Linked DNA regions of Homo sapiens: region 2 is linked to region 1. The links are contacts of gene promoters, found by promoter capture Hi-C in human tissues and cell types (Jung and others, 2019). All regions are on one chromosome and are shown on one strand. The core of a region is centred on a gene start or on the middle of the fragment in contact, and the rest is flanking DNA. Distances in the headings are between cores, read along the strand shown.

Region 1 (3,048 bases), core at 2-2,501:
CCTGGATATGTTTGTTTGACAAACTGAGACCCAGAGAGGTAACATGACTTGAGGTCACACAGCAAGTCTAGGGCACAGTCAGGACTGAAAGCCAGGACTCTGGGGAGGCTAAAGCGCCCTGAGGTTTAGACCATCTGGTTCATGTAGAGAATGGAGAGGGTCAGGGCTGGGAGCTATGGGTTCAAATCCTGGCTCTGCCATTGACTGTACTTTTGTGACCTAAGAAAGTCACTTGAGCTCTCTGAGTCTGTTTCCTCAACTGTTAAACGGGACAATATCTACCTTTTGGGTTGTTGTGAAGATAAAAAAACACACCCATAGCACAGGTCGTGGCACACAGTAAGTGTGCCAATACATGTCAGCTAGTGGTATGGTGGTGCAATAGTAGGTGCCTAATAAATGTTGAATGCATTGTTGAACATGAGTTCACACGCTAACAGTGAGATTGTGAGACTCAGCTTTCCCACGTGTAAATCAGGACTCATAATCAGTCCCTGTCCTGCCACTTCTTTACAGCCCCGGTAGCAACATAGATTAAATAAGGTATGTAAACGTTCAAGCGCGGAGCCGTCTCAGGTCAATGTTTACTCAGCCCAGGGCAATTCCTCTCCAAGTCCTACTCTGCGAAATTTCACGTCAGCTTCACTAACTTCTCTACATTCCCAGATGCTCCCCGGGAACCGGGGGTTGGGGATGTCCCTCTTTTCTCAAGCCCGCCGAGCTGAGGAAAAACGGGGTGGGAAAGCAGAGTGTGTAAGGCTGAGGAGGTGAGCCAGAGGGGGGAGGGAGAGCAGGAATAAGGGCAGTGGGGAGAATGCAGGTGCACGGACGTGGTGTGGGTCGAGAACAGGGTCCGCATCGGGGGACTTGGATATAGGATGCAGTGAAAGGATTTGGGGAGCAGTGGGAGAGGTGAGGGCGCTGCGATCCGGGAAGAATCAGGAAAATAAGGAGCCGGTAGGAGGGAGTGGAGATCCTCCTCGCGGAGAGCTCGCCGCGGCGCAGGGCTCCCAGCTCCCCGCAGCTGCCTCCCCGAACACTCACCCTCCCGGTTCCGAGAACGTTTCCCGGCCCGAGCGCCCGGCCCGCAAACCGGGAGGGGAGGGGAGGGGAGGGGCAGGGGGGGATCCGCAGCCCGGGATTGGCCGCCGCCCCGCCAGCCGGTGACGCGAGGCGGGCGGGCCCCTTTGTGACGTCACAATCAGCTGTTTGAACGTTCCAATTTGTGCCGTGAGCCCCGCCGCAGCGGCCGCACAGACTCAAAGCCCCGCGGGCGAGCTCAGCAGCCCGGAGCGACCGCGGCCCCGCCGCCTCCCCCGCGAGTCCCGGCGATGCGGCCCGGCCTGTGAGCGGCCGGCGACCCTGGGACGCCCCGCCGCACAACTACCTCAACGCCGTGCCGCCCCCCTCCCGCCCCCAGGTGAGTCCCGACCCGGGTGGGCCTGGGGGCTCCCCTGCCACGGACACGCCCTGCGCCCCCCGCGCCCGGGCCTTTGTCTGTCTCCGCCGGCGGCCGCCGGGGCCGCGTTCCCGGCTCCCGATTGGTTGCCGCACGCCCGGTAGACCATGACGTCGTTCTATTTGCATATGACATTGAGACGTCACCAAGGCCGGTACCGCCCCCACAGGCTCGGGTCGCTTGTCCTCCCGTGACCCGGTAGCCGCTGTGTCGGGGCTGGGCCCTGGGTGAGACGCTGCAATCCAAAGGGGGCTGCAGGGGGATCGGCGATTTCCTAGGCTTATCCAGGGGCTGGGGTCAGGCCTCTGATCCCCTACTTTCTCTTTGCAACCTGAGAAGGAGTCAGACGGCGCTGCTGGGCCTAGGTTGAGGGGGTCGTCAGGAGTTCAGGGCTGCATGGGACTCCAGGTGGTTGGGACAGCACCAGATGGTGGTGGGATCCCCTCCCTCCGGCTCCAGACTCCGCCCCCAGGGACTAACAGAATAACATCCTCCTAATCCCTGATTTGTGTGCAGCGCCTTAGCTGATGTCACTCCTAGACCCAAAATGAAGGGTCTTAGACCCCAGTGCATGGAAGGGGCAACAGGCCCAGAGAGGAGGATTAGCTCTCTCGAGGTCACATAACCAATTAGAGTCATGCTCACTGAGTGACAGATGGATTATTAGCCAGGGGCAAAGACATAATAGGGGCTCAGTACAAGTGGTAAGATACACATCCTCCTTCCACTGGGGACCCGATCTTGGGCTCAGCCTTATCACGGTTTGATAGGCTCCTAGGTGTCCTTACTCCTGGACCCTTTTCCAGGGAATCTCTGGAGATTGGTTCACCTTTTGTGGTCCTGACCCCTTCTGTCCTCACTGTACCTTGAAGTCCTAGAGTCCAATAAAATCGCTGCCTCCCAGCTGTTTGGATCACAGAGAGGTGAGTCATTGGCTGCCTCGGGGTGTCTCCAGGGCTGATGTTGGGGTGGAGGGTGGGGTGAGGGTTCCCTCTATTGGCCCTTTACCTTCCCAACTTCCTAGGTCGTCAGCTAGGAAGGGCCTGACCTGGCCTAGTGCAGACAATTGCAGGTGTTTTGCTGCTCCCTCGTCACCTCTGCCCACAGAGAGTATAGGAGAAGGGATAGGATAAGGAGAGTTTCTGACTTAACAAGTGGATGGGCCTAGAGGCTGAACCAGGAACTCCATTCCTGCTGGGAGTTTGCTCAAGGATGGGCTGGGGGTAGGGGTGGCTTAGGGCACAAATGCTATTCTGGGCAGAGCTGCTGTAGTTATTAAAGGGAATGGTTCTCCCTGGAGCAGAACTGGGAATGTGAGAACCAGGAAGCTGGCAGGGCTGGGAAAGGAAATCTGGGAGGCTCCCCAAGTGGTCAGGAGAGGGGGCAGGCACTGGCTGGCTGGTGACTGCTTTCACTCCTGGCTGTCACTGACTTGCTGTGTGACCTCAGGCAGGGAGCTTTTCCCCTGAGCCTCCCTCCCCTAAACCTATCTGAAATTTGGGGAGGCACAGTGCAGGCTCTGGTACACAGTGGGTCTTCAGTAAATGCATGCTAAATCTTGGTGCCAGTAACCCCAGACCCTTTTGTAG
Region 2 (3,388 bases), core at 628-3,127, 720 kb before region 1:
GCCCAGATTTGATGTTTACCTTTACTTTGCAGCTTTGGCCCAGCATGACCAGGCTTTCAGAGTTCACATTAGATCACAGCCCACAGTGCCAATCCAAATGACTGGTATGACTGACCATGGAGAAGGACTCCATGGTGGACAGGGGGACAGAATGTCCTGATTGGCCAGGCCTGGGTCAGGTGCCATCACCAGGGCCAGGGGGAATGAAGTCAGCCCCTTCTGAACTAATAGTAATAATATTAATACTAGATGACATTTGGGGGGTGTTTACTATGTGCCAGTCACTCTTTTAAACATTTTATCTGAATTAACTCATATAACCCAAAAACTCCATGAGGTAGATACTATTCTCCACATTTCTTATATGAGGCACAGAGAGGTTAGGAATTTTTCCAGGTTCACATAGCTGGTCAATGGCAGAGCCAATATTCAAACCTAGGCAGTCAGACTTTAGTTTCCATACTCTTTATGGCCTGGACCAAGAATAGGAGTAGAGGCTCACAGAAAAATCAGATGCTGGCCAGGCACAATGGCTCATGCCTGTAATCCAAGCACTTACAGGGAGTCTGGGACGGGCAGATTGCTCGAGCTTAGGAGTTAGGGACCAGCCTGAGGAACATGGCAAAACCCTGTCTCTACAAAAAAATACAAAAATTAGCTGGGCATGGTGGCACGACCTGTGGTCCCAGCTACTCTGGAGGCTGAGGTGGGAGGATCACCTGAGCCTGGGAAGTTGAGGCTGCAGTGAGCCATGATTGCAGCACTGCACTCCATACTGGGTGACAGAGGAAGACCTTGTCTCAAAAAAAAAATTTTTTTAAGTCAGATGCTGTTAAGAATATTGGGAGATGATACAGCATAGACAAAAATGGTATCTATACCTTGCAACTGCCCACTAATAACCATAAAGACATGATGTGCCATGTAAAGCATGATCTAAGGAAAACCTTCATGTTCTTTATGCAGAAACTTGGGCTAGATGTGGTGGCTCATGCCTGTAATCCCAGCACTTTGGGAGGCTGAGGTGGGAAGACCTCTTGAGCCCAGGAGTTCAAGACCAGCCTTTGCAACATAAGGAGACCCTGTCTTTACAAAAACTTTTTTTAAAAATTAGCTGGGCATGGTGGTACATGCCTATAGTCCCAGCCACTCGGAAGGCTGAGGCAGAAGGACTGCTTAGCTCAGGAGTTCAATGCTGCAGTGAGCTATGACCGCACCACAGCACTCCAGCTTGGGTGACAGAGAGAGACTCTGTCTCAGAAAACAAACAAAAACAAACAAAAAAATTGGGTAATTGGGTATCTTCCTCTCTACTCCAGATGGGATTCTTTTAGCCTTAGGTTCCCCTTATTGGATCCAAAGTTGAGAAGCTCTTGGGTCACTTAGTCAAGAATTCCTGAGGTATAGCAAATAAGAACATCTGGGACCACATGTTACCAACATCTGGTCACAAACTCTTAAAATAATATGGAGAAGTAGATTTGGAGAAACAGATGAAGAACACGAGGGGGAATGTGCTGGGTGACACCCACAGAAATGCACCTGGGGAATCATGATTGAAGCAAGGATGATTGAAAAGTCTCTGCAAGTATGTGTGACACTTCTGAGTATTGGGGGTGGGGTGGGGGTGGAAGGCCTCATGTATCTGTTGTTTCCTGGGCACTCAATCCTTTTTGAACAAGATGCTCTAGAGATGGTTATTCTCATTAGAACAAATGTTACTGACCCAATGTCTTCCTCGTTTATATTTCTTCTAATGTGCTTCTGCTTGAGCAAGTGAGCCCTTAATGTCCATTTCAATTAACATCACTGCATCTGATCTCAGTGGTGTCACTCATGGATGCAATGAGGGGCGGAGAAAGGTCACTGGGAAGTGGGGAGAGGTGTCCCCTCTTGTTTGAAGGCTTGAAGTCACTGGTGAGGGAGGTATTGGGAGGGAAGGTGTGGAATGATTTGCTCCCTACTTAATAAAGACCATACTTTAAAGATGTCAGCCTGTCTTTTGTTTGATAAAACACTAATGTGAAGACCTAGTTGCAAGGCAGAAAGCAGGGACAAGGGCTCTGAGGGCTAAGCCAGTGAGGAACGGGAGACACACAAACTTGCATTGACTTATGAGAGCTTCCTCCATAACCTTGAGCTCCCTAGCCGTCAGTCACAGTGGGTGGGAACTGTATGCTCCAAATCTGCTATCCAGTATCCTGGGGATTCCCAGGGATGGCTCAAAGCTGGTGGTCTGACACCAACACTTCTGTGTGTGGCCTGATCTCAGCATGGAAATGGGATGGACCAGAGTTTGGGGTGGGTGTAGCAGAGCAAGCCTCAGGGAGAGGTAGACAGTCACAACCTGCCAACCCTTCCTTGCTCTTGTTTTCCATCCTTCCTTCCCTTCCTTCCTTCCTAACAAGGGAATTTGTTCCCTTTGTGCCCTTCCAGAGGGAATTTGTTCAGGAAAGAGAAAATATGGATTTATGTTCTCCAAGACACAATCCTCAGGGATGATTCTCTCTCCTTTGAGAAGTCAGAGCATTTGTTTTTTCATCATCTTTGCCATCAATAACAATCATTAGAAGAGCTTACTATTTCTTGAGCACCTTCTGTGTATCAGGGGACATTACATATATTATTTCTAGCCTTCACAGCAACCCTCAAGGTAAATGTAATTTATGCCCACTTTACAGAGGAGGAAATTGGGGCTTAGAGTGCTTGAGGAGCTTGTCCAGTAAGTGGATTGAACTGGGCCCGGTTCATTCGATTTCTGGCTCCAATGTCATCAATTACTTGCAATATATACTTGCAAGGGCCTGGCTCCTGGCTAAGACCTGCTAATGGATGCATCTGAAATAAGAAATGTCTTCTATTCAAGTTCCAGACGTCCACATCAACAAGCATCAAACACAGAGTTTAACCTGCATCGTACTGGCAGTCAAGATGCAAGGGCTGTAGTCCTGGTTCTGCAACTCTTTTGATGGGCAGCTTTCAGTGTATATGTGTGAACTCCCCTCTCCAGTAGAACTCCCCTCTCCAGTTGTCATTTCTCCATCTGTAAAATGGGCAAGTTTGACTAAATATCTCCAAGAGTCAGCTCAGTTCAATCCAATCTGACAGCACCCATGGGGCTTTCCTGTGTGACTGTGCCAGAAGGAAATAAAGATGGACAAGGCAGACCTCCATTCTCTAGGTGAGCTAAATGTGTGCTCTAATAGTTATACATAAAGAGCAACAAAGCTTGGAGAGCACGGCATCTCATTTAGACTTGGCCAGTGGCAATGTGTGTGGCACAGGAGATGAGGCAGGCTTCAGGGTGGAGGCGCCATTGGCAGTTGGGCTTGAAAAGGAAATAGAACATGTGGAGGTGGAGACAGGAGGAAGCTTTTCCCAGCCAACA

What was found. Contacts are between HindIII fragments. The study calls those that stand out against the background at their distance.
Region 2: a fragment that was not itself captured here is called in contact with the fragment with the promoter of TP53INP2 in region 1 in 1 of the 25 tissues and cell types used here (dorsolateral prefrontal cortex).

Annotation. Positions count from the first base shown.
Region 1 is chr20:34,703,093-34,706,140 of GRCh38, forward strand. TP53INP2 (tumor protein p53 inducible nuclear protein 2) reads left to right here and starts at 1,252. Exons shown (of 5, transcript NM_021202.3): 1 at 1,252-1,420; 2 at 2,266-2,382. It overlaps LOC105372599 (a long non-coding RNA gene), which reads right to left and starts at 1,090. Exons shown (of 2, transcript XR_936690.3): 1 at 1,045-1,090; 2 at 567-721. RefSeq lists a silencer at 1,048-1,527. The HindIII fragment of the contact is 10,895 bases long and covers 1-3,048 here.
Region 2 is chr20:33,986,971-33,990,358 of GRCh38, forward strand. No RefSeq gene overlaps it. Among named protein-coding and RNA genes, the nearest start is that of RALY, 5.2 kb to the right of the region's middle. The HindIII fragment of the contact is 5,978 bases long and covers 1-3,388 here.